Regions from separate parts of the Homo sapiens genome. Here regions 1, 2 and 3 are each linked to region 4. The links are contacts of gene promoters, found by promoter capture Hi-C in blood cells and fetal thymus (Javierre and others, 2016). All regions are on one chromosome and are shown on one strand. The core of a region is centred on a gene start or on the middle of the fragment in contact, and the rest is flanking DNA. Distances in the headings are between cores, read along the strand shown.

What was found. Contacts are between HindIII fragments. The CHiCAGO score rates a contact against its expected background, and 5 or more counts as called.
Region 1: a fragment that was not itself captured here is called in contact with the fragment with the promoter of TRPC7-AS1 in region 4 in 8 of 17 cell types (monocytes, naive CD8 T cells, fetal thymus and 5 more); the score reaches 9.1 in monocytes.
Region 2: a fragment that was not itself captured here is called in contact with the fragment with the promoter of TRPC7-AS1 in region 4 in 2 of 17 cell types (activated CD4 T cells and monocytes); the score reaches 6.7 in activated CD4 T cells.
Region 3: a fragment that was not itself captured here is called in contact with the fragment with the promoter of TRPC7-AS1 in region 4 in 4 of 17 cell types (endothelial precursors, fetal thymus, M1 macrophages and 1 more); the score reaches 5.9 in endothelial precursors.

Annotation. Positions count from the first base shown.
Region 1 is chr5:135,901,008-135,904,559 of GRCh38, reverse strand. No RefSeq gene overlaps it. Among named protein-coding and RNA genes, the nearest start is that of IL9, 6.9 kb to the right of the region's middle. The HindIII fragment of the contact is 5,582 bases long and covers 1-3,552 here.
Region 2 is chr5:135,845,588-135,849,092 of GRCh38, reverse strand. The region is part of intron 2 of SLC25A48 (solute carrier family 25 member 48); the gene reads right to left. Among named protein-coding and RNA genes, the nearest start is that of SLC25A48, 13 kb to the right of the region's middle. The HindIII fragment of the contact is 3,273 bases long and covers 139-3,411 here.
Region 3 is chr5:135,920,448-135,924,024 of GRCh38, reverse strand. No RefSeq gene overlaps it. Among named protein-coding and RNA genes, the nearest start is that of IL9, 26 kb to the right of the region's middle. The HindIII fragment of the contact is 2,062 bases long and covers 605-2,666 here.
Region 4 is chr5:136,211,969-136,215,626 of GRCh38, reverse strand. TRPC7-AS1 (TRPC7 antisense RNA 1) reads right to left here and starts at 1,579. Exons shown (of 2, transcript NR_046708.1): 1 at 1,204-1,579. TRPC7 (transient receptor potential cation channel subfamily C member 7) reads left to right here. Exons shown (of 12, transcript NM_020389.3): 12 at 2,023-2,882. The coding sequence ends at 2,192. The HindIII fragment of the contact is 8,916 bases long and covers 1-3,335 here.

The DNA of each region.
Region 1 (3,552 bases), core at 552-3,051, 310 kb after region 4:
CATCTCTATACAAAATTTTTAAAAAATTAGCTTGTTGTGGTGGTGCGTGCCTGTGGTCCCAGCTACTCAGGAGGCTGAGGCGGGAGAATCACCTGAGCCCTGGAAGTCAAGGCTGCAGTGAGCCAAGATCATGCCACTGCACTTCAGCCTAGGTGACAGAGCAAGACACTGCCAAACAAAAAAATTCTAATTACTATGTGTTGGGAACTGTCTTGTCACTGGCTTTGTGGAAATAAAAGAAGAAAAATCCTTGCTATGGAGGAGTGAGGAAATATTGAAAATTCTCTTACTATTTAAACTCTTCCTAACTCACTTTTTATGTGCCCCAAAAAGAAGGCACATAAAAAGAATATGAAGAATGAACTCCCTTAGGGATGGACACTATCTAAGTAAAGTTGTTAATGCAGCCTCTTCCCTTCTGAAAGAGAACCTGGCTTTTCCATTCATTATTTAGCTCTGTTCCCCTACACACCAGATGAAGATGAAATATCAAGTAGGCCTGGGTGGCAAAGTGTCTGGGCTGGGATGACTATAAATGAACTATCCATTTTTAGTGGAGTGTCACAGCCTTGGGCTCTCCTGAGTGCAGGGGCCTTGGAAGCTGTCTGTGATCTCTTTCACCAGATATTGACTCCTGTGGGGCACAAAGCCTTAGGCCAGGACATATCTTGGGCCTCCCAATGGAAGTCGTGCTTCTCCACACCTGAGTCATCACCTGGAGCACTAAAGAGAATGGTGCCTGGACGACCTTGAGGGCCATTCCTACTGAAGAGCAGCACCTAATGCTGCCACCCTGGGAACCTGTGTTTCATCCTCTGTTCAAAATAAAGGAAGAACAAATTGATTCCATCAGCGTATTAAAACCATAATATAGTATGACCAAATAGAACTTATTCCAGGAATGTGAGGATGGCTCAACATTTAGTAATCAGTTAAAATAATGTATCATATGAGTTAGTGGAAAGAAAACTCATGATCCTGATAAAAACTTGAAAGGCGTTTGTAAAATTCAGCTATCATTTCTAATAAAAATTTGGAGAACTAAATATTCGAAACTGTTCCCTATTAGGAAATCAACAGCAAACATGATATTGATTGATAGATGATTATTTTAGATTCAGGAGGTACATGTGCAGCTGTGTTATATGAATATATTGTGTAATGGTGAGGTCTGGGCTTCTGATGTACCCATCATCCAAATAGTGACCATTGTACCTAATAGGTAATTTTTCAACCCTTGCCCCCTCCTCCCCTCCCCTATTTGGAGTCTTTGGCGTCTAGTGTTTCCATCTTTATGTCCATGTGTACCCATTGTTTAGCTCCCACTTATAAGTGAGGTCATGCAAGCAAACATGATATTTAAATGAAAAGCATTGAAAGCATTCCCAATAATATGAAGGAAATGTCGACAATCATTTTATTACCACAATTGCATTCTAAGGTCAATCTAGAGCTGTAAGATAGCTCATTGGACTAAATTAGAGTCCAGAAAGATACTTAAGAAAAATTAAAATTTAGTGTTCAATAAGGTAGTATTTCAAATCAGTAGGTAAAAGAGATATTTAGTTAGTAATAGTATCAACCAAACATGGAAGAAAAATAAATTAGATTTCTTCTATACCCTCAAATAAACTCTAAAAAGATTAAAGATTTAATTGCTGAAAATAAAATCATTCACAGACTGGAAAAATAGAGATAAATATGTTATATGTTTGACCACATGAAAACACAGTCAGAAAACACTACAAGCATAACAATAAACAGAAGAAAATAAATGTAATATATTTGAAAAACAAAGATACACAAAGAACTCTTAGTAATCAGTAAGCAAAAGATTAATATACCAACAGAAATCTGGGCACTAACAGGTAACTCACAAGTGAAGAAATATAAAAAAGCAAGAATTCATTAATTTATGAATTCAATACATATGTATTAGCATCATAAATTTGCCAGACACACGGCCAAGGTTAATAAAAAATCACTGTCCAGTGTTGATAAGGATGTCAGAAGTGGACATTCTTAAACGTGACTAATGGGATTATTATAAATTATAAATTCTATTATTATATGTTAGAACATATTTCTGGAGGACAGTTTGGCAAAACGTATTGAGAGTGAAAGGGTTGCAAATACTTGACCATTCATTCCAAATGTAGGATTTATATTGTCATGAGTGGACGTGAGCCCTGGAACTGGGCAGTCATCTTATAGCCCCAAGGGGAGGGAAGTCAACCCACAGAGTGGCAAAGCAGCCTGTCCACAAGATCTCAGAGCTGCAGATCCGACCACCCCAGGACCCACCGTATCCACAGATGCAGTGTTTTGTGAGATGGCAAATTTCCTTATCACTCCAGTCAGTGTTAACTGGGGTTTTGTGATTTGTGGTCAATGCAATCTTGATGACACAGGGCTCTGTCCTTCCGTTCAGAACTTCTAGCCTCATCTTCCACTTCTTCCCAACAGCCACTTCTGCAGTAGTCAGGCTGCTTCCAACCCTGTCAACACCTTGATTTGCACTTCTGGTTCCAAGATTGTGCGAGAATAAATTTCCGTGGCTTTAAGTCTCCCAGTTTGTATACTTTGTGATGGCAGCCCCAGGACACAGATATAGCTGAGGCCTAGAATCCACCTCCCTCTTCCCCAAAGGCATACTTTGATTTTCTGCTTGTATTAAGTAGACTTGGAGTACAGCCTATAGAGTATCGGTCAACAGAAGTGGAGATTGATTTATGGCCTTGCAGATAAGAACACAGGCTCTGGGGTCTGGTAAATCTCATTCAAGTTGCCAGCTGTGTGTCTATGGCAACTCTCCTAGCTTCTCTGAGCTTCCATTTGGATATCTACAAATAGGGTTAATAAAGATTGTTGAGGGGGCTGAGTGAGATGATATATATAAAGTGCTTAATAAGTTATCTTGTGCACAGGAAGATTTAACAAATTCTAATGCCTTAAGGCTCCAGTGTAATCCAGAACAACAGTTCTCATCCTCCCTTAATTAGATGGACATCAATGAATTGGCCACAGCAAAGGGTGGGGAGTTGGGGGAGTCCCATAGTCTCTGAGAAATACAGGGGCATGTCTCAAGTAATGGTGGACTATGCCAATGGGAGGATGTGAAATTCCATTTACAAGGATAGCCCAGATTGTTATTAACCAACAACAGTGAGGAAAGAGAAGTGAGAGGAAGGAGGAAAGAAATAGATCCTAGGTCTTGGAGCTCAGAGAAAACTGTGTGGGGCCACACAGGGAACAGTAGCTTCCAAGGGCAGCAGACACAGGGTTTGCTCAGGCAGGATGTGAGGGAAGGGGTCCTGGGTTCCCCTTCCACGGAGAGAAGACCCAACCGAAGGACAGCATCACCAGTGGGGCTTACCCCATCATGCTTACTTAGAAAGTAGTGATCTAGAAATAACTACTTGATTAGGAAATTAGCACTTGAGGATTCTCATAACTAGTTACCTCTTGGCTGCTTGGAGTAAAAGGCAGAACAGGTTTTACTTGGAAATGCAGTGCCTTTTTTTTTTTTTTTTGGTCATTTTATGCTGTGCC
Region 2 (3,505 bases), core at 526-3,025, 370 kb after region 4:
TCCTACGATAAGCAGATGTTACTTTCATTATTTTTAATTTATGTAGTTTAAAACTAATGTTAAGTACACAACTCGTATGGAAATAAATTCTCTCAAAAACAACAACAACAAATTAATGTCACATGTAAGGCTAAAGCTTCATTGGACCCACCTTCGCTCTCACCCTACTCCTCTCCTGAGTTTATGACCATGGCTAATAACGTGGCCAAGAGTTTGAGAAGCATCCATTTGAATAGTTTTATAAACATATGTAGCCATAGGAAAAATATAGGAAATAGTATCACCCTGTTCATAATTATTACTTTCATAATCAGAGAAGTGTGTTTATTGACTCACTCAACCAATATTTGTTCGGGGCCTATTTTATTGGAGGCACTATTCCAGTCTCAGGGAATTCAGCAGTAAAGAAACCAGAGTCTGCCTTCATGGAACTTACAACCTAGTGGAGTCAGGAAAGATGGTCAATAAAAAATAATTCCCAAGTAAATATATATTTTAGATGAAGACAAGTACTACAGAGGAAAATAAACCAAGGATAAGAAGAGCTGGGTGATAAGAAGGAAAAGGTAATTTTAAATTCAGTGGGGGAGACTCCCTGGAAAATGCAGCAAGATGAGAACTGGGCCTTCAAGGTCTTCTTGTTAAGCAGAACCACAGAGGCCTACCTCGGAGTGGGATGTCCACAACCAGGACAATGACTTGGGCCAGGTGGTGGAGGGGTGCAGGTCTCTCTCTGTGCCCCATGTAAGGCTGTCATGAGGTCCAACACTCTCCCAGGGCTGTCCCTGGAAAGTGAATCCACAAATGGCTGACTGCCACCCACCCCCTGCAACAAGTAATCAATTCCTGCTAAGAAAATTGAGTGGTTGAGTCACTCAAGCCAATAATACATGAAGTGACTCAACCTGAGAGCCAAACCTGGATCACAGAATAATTTCAAAGCCATGGAGCAAAGGTCTGTCAGGCATGCTGAGCACTCGGGTAGGCTGGCACTGAGGCCAGCAGCAAAGCCCAAGTCTCTAGGGCCCCCAGTGATAGCAGGAGAAGGCATTTATTATGCACCAACTGCATACTGACCATCATATAAAATTGACCTCACTAAATCCCACAGATGCTCTAAGGCACGGATACTGGTCCCATCTTACAGATGAACACAACTGACTACTTATATTAGTTTCCTATTGCTGCTGTAACAAATTACCCCAAACTTCATGGCTTAAAACAGCATGAATGCATTATCTCACAGTTCTAAGACCAGAAATCTGAAATGAGTCTCAGTGGGGTAAGATCAGAATGCTGGCAAGGCAGCACTCCCTCGGGAGGCTCTTGAGGAGAATGTGTTTTCTTGTCTCCCCCAGCTTTTGGGGTTCACCCTCTTTCCCGGAGCCCCAGCATCATGGCTCCTCTTCTCTCCCTGCTTCTGTTGTCACATTGTTTTCTTCCTCTTCTGTGGGAAGAAATCTAAATCTCTCTCCACCTCCCTCTTATAAGGACACTTGTAATTACATTTAAGAACCTCCCTGATAATCCAGGATCATCCTCCCATCTCAAGATCCTTAACATAATCATACCTGCAAAGTTTTCTTTTGCCATATAAGATGACATTCACAGGTTCCACAGATGAGGACACAGGCACATCTGGGGACCATTATTCAGTCAACCACACTGCCTCACATGGTTTCCCCAGGAACCTGGCCCCCTCGTTTTGTTCATCCCCAAGGCCTTTCACTCCACAGGACCCCAGAGGCTGCTACTCCCACCAATCTCTAGCCTACTGAGACCAAAACAAGTCTAGTCCAAGCTCTTGACCAGGTGTGGCTGCCCTCAGTGTTGGGTTCTGACCTATACATAGTGTTAGGTATATAATAGATACTCAGTGAACACCTATGAAAGGCAAGAGAGAAGAGAGCTTGGTTCCCTAGCCCAGCTTCAGTGCTTTTAGTTATTATGGAAAATATCTCCAAATCTGAGGTGTCCAGAGCACTCATTTTGGGCCTACAGAATTGATGGTCTTGCCATTATCTTTCTCGTCTCTCCTGGTTATGTAGAATCAAGGCCATTTTAAGACTTGCTTAGATTTTGGACTCTTTCGCTTTTGCAAACCTGCTCATATTGTATCAAGTAAGATAAAATTAAGCATAATTGTATATATTTAATGTACATCCCATATTAATATCATCCACATAGACCTCCATGAAAGCTGAGTTGCATTTGACTATTTAACATGAGGTTATATTTTGTAAATATTTAGTGCAGCATTAATTTTGATTCTGTACTTTTCTTCTTATATACTATACTATTTTCTCAGGTCTCTGACACTTTCTTTGGTCCTTATAGAGAATGGGAGCCCTGGATTGTGTGAATGCAGTGGATACATCTTGAAGATCATGGCCCTTCATGCAATATTTAGCCCAAAACTATGAGCTTCATGTCAGGGGTGCTGTGAATCTCATGCTACTCCAGTTCATGGTTTCTCTCCCATTGGAACCTCTCAGCATCCCAGAGCTGAAAACCCAAGGAGAAGAGGATGAGTGCTCAGTGTCAGAGGTGAGGTGGCTGAAGCCTCAGAGCTCAGAGCTGAGCCACTGCCTGGCCTGCCCCTGACCTGGCAGAGCAAGCCATGCCCTGGCTGTCCTGGGCCAAGATGCATGCCCCAGATTGGACTGGGTAGTGAGGGGGCAGCCTAGAATTGTGGGGAGCATGTTGAAGCAAAACAAGAACCCCCACTGGGATGTTCATGAGAAGGAGGCAGACACCCCCTCCCAAAGCCTGTCCATTGCAGTCCAGTCCCAGTGGTCTACAAGAGTGATCCCCAACATTTTTGGCGCCAGGAACCAGTTTTGTGGAAGACAATTTTTCCAAAGACCAGGGTGGGGTGATGGTTTTGAGGTGAAACCATCAGATAATCAGGCATCAGATTCTCATAAAGAGCGGGCAACCTAGATCCCTCGCATGCGCAGTTCATAATAGGGTTTGTGCTCTTACGAGAATCTAATGCTGCCACTGATCTGAGAGGAAGCAGAGCTCAGGCAGTAATGCTCACTTACCCACTGCTCACCTCCTGCTGTGCAGCCCCGTTCCTAACAGGCCACAGGCTGGTACTGGTACGGTATAGGAGTTGGGGACCCCTGGTCTAGAGGCAGCCAAGCCCTGACTAGAAAACCTAGCCACGCTGCATCAGACATAGGCACCAGCCAGGCCTCCTCAACCTAAGACCACGCAGCCAAGGGCACAGGAATAAGCCTTTCACCTGGGTCAGCAGCACAGGCCCTTGTAGCCGGGTTCTTCCACAGGTGAGTCCCCGGACCCTAGACAAGTGACTGTCTGCCTCCCTGCACTCCAGCCTGTCTATTCTTGATAGTAGCATCATCTCGCTCATTGCTGTATCCTCAGTACCTCCATGAACAAGCTTCATGACAGCCCCACCAGGGAGGTGCTACTTGCCCACTTTACAGACAAGGAATTCAAGGCTCAGGAAGGTTAAGTGCTGTGCCCAGGTCACTGG
Region 3 (3,577 bases), core at 386-2,885, 290 kb after region 4:
TGTCTCTCACTTTAAATTCAAATCTAAAAATGATTAAGCTTGGTGATGAAGGCATGTCAAAATCGGACATACGCTGAAAGTTAGGCTTCTTGTGTTAAACAATTAGCCAAGTTTTGAATGCAAAGGAAAAGTCCTTGAAGGAGATTAAAAAGTGCTACTCCAGTCAACACGCAAATGACAAGAAAGTGAAACAGCCTTATTGCTGGTATGGGGAAAGTTTTCATGGTCTGGATAGAAAATGAAATCAGCTATAACCTGCCCTTAAGCCAAAGCTTAATCCAGAGCAAGGCCCTAACCTCTTTAATTCTATGAAGGTTGAGAGAGGTGAGGAAGCTGCAGAAGAAAAGTTTGAGATTAGCAGAGTTTGGTTCATCAGATTTAGGGAAAGAAGCCATCTCCATAACATAAAAGTGCAAGGTGAAGCAGCAGGTGCTGATGGAGAAGCTGCAGCAAGTTATCCAGAAGATCTAGCCAAGATCATTGATAAAGGCAGCTACATTCAAAACAGATTTTCAATGTAGATTAAACAGTCTTCTATTGGAAGGAGATGCCATCTAGGACTTTCATAACTAAAGAGGAGAAATCAATGCCTTGTACCAAAGCTTCAAAGAACAGCTGGCCTCTTTTGTTAGGAATAATGTGGGTGGTGACTTTAAATTAAAGCATTGGCTTTACTTTAATGTTCATTTACTATTCTAGAAATCCTAATTCCATTAAGAATTATGCTTAATCTGCTCCTTCTCTGTTCTAGAAATATGACAAAGCCATCTGTTTACAGCATATTTTACTATTTTAAGCCCACTATTGAGATCTACTTCTCAGAAAAAGAGATTCCTTTCAAAATATTACTGTTCATGGACAGTGCTCACCCAAGAGCTCTGATAGAGATGTACAAGGAAATTAGTGTTTTCAGGCCGGCTAACACAATATCCATTCTGCAGCCCATGCATCAAGGATTGATTTCCAAGTCCTACTATTTAAGAAATATATTTTGTAAGGCTATTGCTGCCATAGATAGTTATTCCTCTGATATATCTGGGCAAAGCAAATTGAAAACCTACTGGAAAGGATTCACCATTCTAGATGCTATTAGGAACATTTGGGCTTCATGGGAGGAGGCCAAAGTATCAATATTAACAGGAGTTTGGAATAAGTTGATTCCAGCCTAAATGGATGACTTTGAGGGGTTTAAGACATCATGGAGGAAGGAAGTGCAGGTGAGGTGGAAACTGCAAGGGAACTAGAGTAAGAAGTGGAGCCTGAAGATGTGACTGAATTGTTGCAGTCTCACAAGAATTGAACAGATGAGGAGTTGCCTGTCATGGGTGGGCAAAGAAAGTGGTTTCTTGAGATGGAGTCTATTTGTGGTGAAGATGCTGTGAACATTGTTGAAATGACAACAAAGGATTTAGCATATTCCATAAACTTAGTTGATAAAGCAGCAGCAGGGTTTGAGAGTATTTATTCCAATTTTGAAAGAAGTTCTAATGTGGGTAAAATGCTACCAAACAACATTAAATGCTACAGAGAAATCTCTTGTGAAAGGAAGAGTCAATCCGTGTGCAAACTTCACTGTTGTCTTATTTTAAGAAATTACCACAGACACCCCAATCTTCAACAACTACTACCCTGATCAGTCAGCGGCCGTCAACATCAAGACGAGATCCTCCACCAGCAAGAAGATGATGACTCACTGAAGGTTCAGATGATGGTTAGCATTTTTTTTTCAGTCAAGCATTTTTAAATTAAGGTACGTAAAGATTTTAAACATAATGCTCCTGCACACCTAGACTACAGTATAGTGTAAATATAACTTGTATATGCACTGAGAAACCAAAAATTCATACAAATTGCTTCAATGAGGTATTTGCTTTATTGCAGTGGTCTGGAACTGAACCCACAATATCTCTGAATCATGTCTGTATGTGGCTTAATATGTAAACTGCCCACTTCCGAGAGAAAAGTTCAGGTACATTTTGCACATGTTTTCCCTTGGACACTGCAAAACACCTTGCCAGCATAAAAAGACACTGTAAGATTTCCCTCTGTTCTAATTCATTTCATTTAAACCTGCAATGGATTAATTATGTCCTGAAGATTGATCATATTTTTCCTTTAAGAATTTGTTTTTTACTATTTAAAATATAAATAGCCTATTATCTACATCAGTCAAGATTTCTTGCCTGTGCAAAAATCTCTCAACATTTTTGAGATACAGTTTTTACTTCATATTTCTTTAGATTAAGTTTTCCCTAAAGGAAATTAGTAAAGGAGCTATTTAACTTTACTTCAAGATTAAGGCTATTCATTTTAAAATCACAAGTCCCAGCTAGTGTGTCTCTAAATGTAGAAGAGCTTGCTGTTCTTTGCATTCTATCCACAGTATGAAGCCCTCGTAAATGGGGAATTATGAAATAAGCATTTCTAAATGGGTCAGGCTTAGTCATCACTGACAACATTGATTCAAAGCCATTACTCTGTGTTGAAAAGTGAATAAAGTCAAGGGCATTGTATGGAGCTCAAGATTTCATTAACAACATGTTCTTCTGGTTTATGGTGGACTTTTTTTGCACAGCTTCATGGATCTGAAGTTATCACTTTTTAAAATAAGGAATAAAAATAATTTTTAACCTATTGCTTTTTACTATTGCTCTTCTAGTAAAGCTTTCACATTGCAACATATTTAAAATAAAATGTAACACTGAATCATGTTTTCCAACGTTGCAGATTACTTGGTTTCAAAAGCTGAAATTCAAGGAAAATAATTCTACAAATATATTTTGTTTAAAAAGAAGCAAGTGATTTTATTGCCATGTTTAACTGAAAATTTCATAGGAATACTTTGTTAATCTCGAGATAATTTTCTGTAGTCATTTTATTTATGAAAGACAAAACTCTGTATTATTACTTTGATTGTCAGCATAAGTCTGGGATCAAGAGAAACAGGGTTAGTCCTTCAAAATCACCTAATAAAAGTAGGTTAGTACGTCATGTTTTATAGATGTCCTGGTGATCCGTCATTTTAAAGTGCATTTCAAAAAGGAGTCATTACCAAAAAAAAATTTCATAGTGTTTTTAGCAAAAGGAAAATGTTAACACAAAGATATTTCTTATAAAGAACAGGGAACTGTTTCAAGCTACTAAATTTTGATTTGTTTGTTTATGGCATGTCCTCCCATGTTAATTTACAACCTATGAAAACTGACATATTTTAAGATTAAAAATTAAGAACTTAAAATTAAGTGGTTTTGATTAATTTGATTTACTGGTTCTAGAAAGAAAATGCTCTGAAGTGATTTTTTAAAAAAGATTATAGTTAATTGAAGGAATACTCTGTATTACCAATTACCCTAAAATCATAAAATAGAGTACTTCCCAGAGGAAATAGAAAAGAGCTACAATAGTTAACAGATATAATATTTAAAATGCCATAGGATAGTGGTATACTGCCAGCAATCCCACCAATCAAGTGCCAACAGAAATAAGGCAACTCTTTATAAACAAGGTATTGAGAAGACTTTAAGAAATCAGACTTACTGATATCAACAAGGTTTGCCAGTGAAGGACTATGCAGCCA
Region 4 (3,658 bases), core at 330-2,829:
CTGGTCTCGAACTCCTGACCTTGTGATCCGCCCATCTCAGCCTCCCAAAGTGTTGGGATTACAGGCATGAGCCACTGCGCCCGGCCCCTCCTCCACTTTTAAGGACTCATGTGATTGAATTGGTTCCACCAGGACAATCCAGAATAATCTCCTTCTGTTAAGGGCAGCTGATCAGCAACCTGAATTCTATTTGCCACCTCAGTTCCCCTTTGAGGAGAAACAGTCATGTTTCCCACAGGCAGAACATCAGGGATCAGGACGGGGACATCTTGGGAGTAGGGGACATTCCTCTGCCTCCCACAGCAATGGCAGCCTTGAGCCAACCTCATGCCTCTTGAGTGCAGGATGGTTCAGAATTCCAATGCTGTACTTCATTCCATGGTGCACATCCACTGAGCAGATGCACACTGCGTTTAGGGTCTGCCGCCGCTTGCTTCTAACTGGCCCTGTCCAGTCTCAGTGGGAGGTTCTCAGCATCTAACTGACAGCCGTGTTTCTCAAAGTGTTCCCCACCTCAGAACTAGCTGTTAAAACTACAGATCCCAGACCCCACCCAGACCTAATGAATCAGCATCTCTGGAGTGGGGTCTGGGGATCTGCTTTTGGAAAACTGCACCAAGGGTCTCTGATATACACTGAAGTTTACCAACTATATTATTTTCACTGTTTGGGTTGTTTTCCAGTCTATTTTAAGCAGTTACTCTTAGATGAAAAGCAAATTACTTTATGCCAGGTAATTAATGAGATACTTATGACAAATATTTGCCACCTAGAAACAGCCTCATCCATGATTGAAGTTTCTGTTCTCCTAGCTTGGGCCACAGGGAACTACAGAAAGAGCCTGGTCATTGGGTGACCCTCTGCTTCATCCTGGGGCACCCAGCATGCAGCTCGAAGCTCAGCCATAACTGAACTGCCCCTGAGCTGACATGGTTTAGGGGCAGACAACAGCCCACCTACCTACTTGTAGGTCTCAAACAATGGCCAAGTGTCAGGCCAGCCAGCCTCAAGCAGTATGTAACTGATTCATGTGAATATCACTGATCATAGAAGGTGGGGGTATCCAGGTGTCATGGCACTTAAATTACACCATGAAACGGGGGCTCAGTGAAGCATCTGATAAAAACAGGGGGTGTATCCATTTGTCAAAATGGATCAAACTGTACCTTTAAGATCTCTGCCTTTTATGTGTATAGACCATACCTGAAAAATAGACGAGTAATGTTTCCACAGACAGTGGACTCCCACACGAGCCAAGTGCAGTATCTACAGTATTAGGAAAGATCCTTTTGACATCTGTTTGTGGTTAATAAGAAGATTCCCACAGCCTAGACCCATTGGACTTCTAACCACAAGGTTCTCTGTGGAAATAAAAGTGAAAGTCCCTGCTAGGTGGTCCCTCGTTATGGAAGGAGGAGGCGGCAGGCATTGACGAAGCTCCTGTCAGCGAGGTGGTGCTGCTGCTTGTGTGGGCTGAGTGGACCGTGCTCAGGTGGCCAGCTCACTCCCAAGAGGCTGGTCAGCTCCATGGCCACCACGGCTGCATCTGCTGTGCCGAGCCATTCTCTCCAGGCTCCTGGGAGTTTCTCCTCCCTACAAATAACAATGACAGAACAAAACATAGCATCATCAAAAGCAATGCTCTGGTTAATGGGGTTGTTTTCCAGAGTCTTGAAATCTGCCTTTAGTGACTCTGAAACAAACTTTCTAACAAGTATTTTATGAAACAAGTGCTAGACACAATTCACAGCCCTGATCTTGACTCCTCCTTCAAACCCCTAAGGGAAAGGTTTTCCTGGAATGGGAGGAGAAGGGCTTTCTATGGATCGATGTGTCCTTCAGTGGTGGGGGAGCTGGGTGGTTCTGGGTTCAAATAGAGCCCCCCTTGCCTCACCTTCAACCCTGGTGGGCTGGCCCAGGACCCGACATTCCACTGGAAGGATGCACATGCCCACATGTGCATGGGACAAGCCCCGAGCTTCCACCTACTCAGACTCAGCAAAATCTCCTCTGTCCTTGCAGGCGAGCTGAAGGAAATCAAGCAAGATATCTCCAGCCTGCGCTATGAGCTTCTTGAGGAAAAATCTCAAGCTACTGGTGAGCTGGCAGACCTGATTCAACAACTCAGCGAGAAGTTTGGAAAGAACTTAAACAAAGACCACCTGAGGGTGAACAAGGGCAAAGACATTTAGCAGCCCACATCGGCGTCTGTGACTTCTACCAGCATTCCAAGGCCAGGTTGGATGCCCTCGCCCCCATCCTTGGTGGGGAGGGGTCCCCAGCCCACTCCTCTAGGACACGAAGGGGATCTCCTGGCTCAGTCTCTTGCAGCATGACTGACATCTCCAGCCCGCTGGCCTGCCTAGACCCAGAACTGCTGTGAATCTAGGTGGTTGGGTAAGAAAAGCTACCATGGGAGGAGGGGAGGAACAGCCCCCTGACGAGTGTGAGACCTTTGGTCCAGCCACAGTGAAACCCATCCCTGTGGCCAGAGCAGGAAAAGGCCATCTTGGGTGCACACCTGTGCCCTCCCACTGCAGGTGGGACTGCAGCTCTGGCTGTGTCCTGGGAAGACAAACACCTCAACCCACAAACTCCTTCTCACTCCCTCCCTGCCACCCCCAACACATCCAAACAGAACCAGGAGGTGACCTGTGATCTATTCTTAAGTGCCAGATGAGAACACAGCCTAATAGCAAAATAGTTCTATTTGTTTATATAAAAAAAAAGTTTAAAAATCCTAAATTGAAAACTGTACTGTAGGTAGCACTGTTTAGAAAACAACAACAAAATCCAAATGATGTATTTTTACCTTTATTAAGATTATCTTGTATTTACTATTTTTACCTAAAATGGAAAGAAATAAAATTACCTCATAATAACTTCTGTGGATACGCTACCAGGGCCGCCCCACTCGCGGGCCCAGTCTGGAGGTGGCCTTGGGAACCTGTGGCCCAGGGATGCTTCGGGAGGAGAATGGGCCGATGCGGTGGGGGTTGGGTGGGGACGAAGGCACCACCCTCCTTAGAGTCATGCAGCCAGGACCCCCAGAAGCTCCAGCCTCCACCTCCAAGCCCCTCCTCCTGTGCCCAGACCTAAGGTCAGGAAGGAGGTAAAGGAAATGCAGAACAAGTGGAAAGTTTTCTCCCACCCCATTCTAGAACTTTCCTCCATGTGAAAGGAAGGGGAGGGGCAGGAATGAGGCCTCAAAGTGTCCCCCCAACCAAGGAAGAGGCTAAGTGTGAGTGGGGAGAGCAGCCACCAGAGGGCGCTGAGTCCCAAACAATGCCTGTTCGGAGCAGGTGTGCGAAGATGCCATTCATCTTCCAGAAGCTTCCAGAAGAGCCCTCTGCTCCCAAGGAAATATTCCTAGGGCTGGCCAGAAGTATTCAGCTTTTGCCGTGTACCAGGCACTGTGCTCGGGGCTTTGCATGCATCAGTCCACCGGATCCTCACAGCAACCCTGTGAGGAGGGTGATGGTTACAAATTCACATGCCTTGCAGACGTTCTAGAGGGGGGAAGATAAATATATAATAATTATATATATATATATATATGCATGTGTGTATGTGTAAATGTATATATGTATGTATATGTAGAAAGAGGGAGCTTGTGTTTCAAGACATACGTCTTTGTCTTCAGGGGCAAACATTTTTT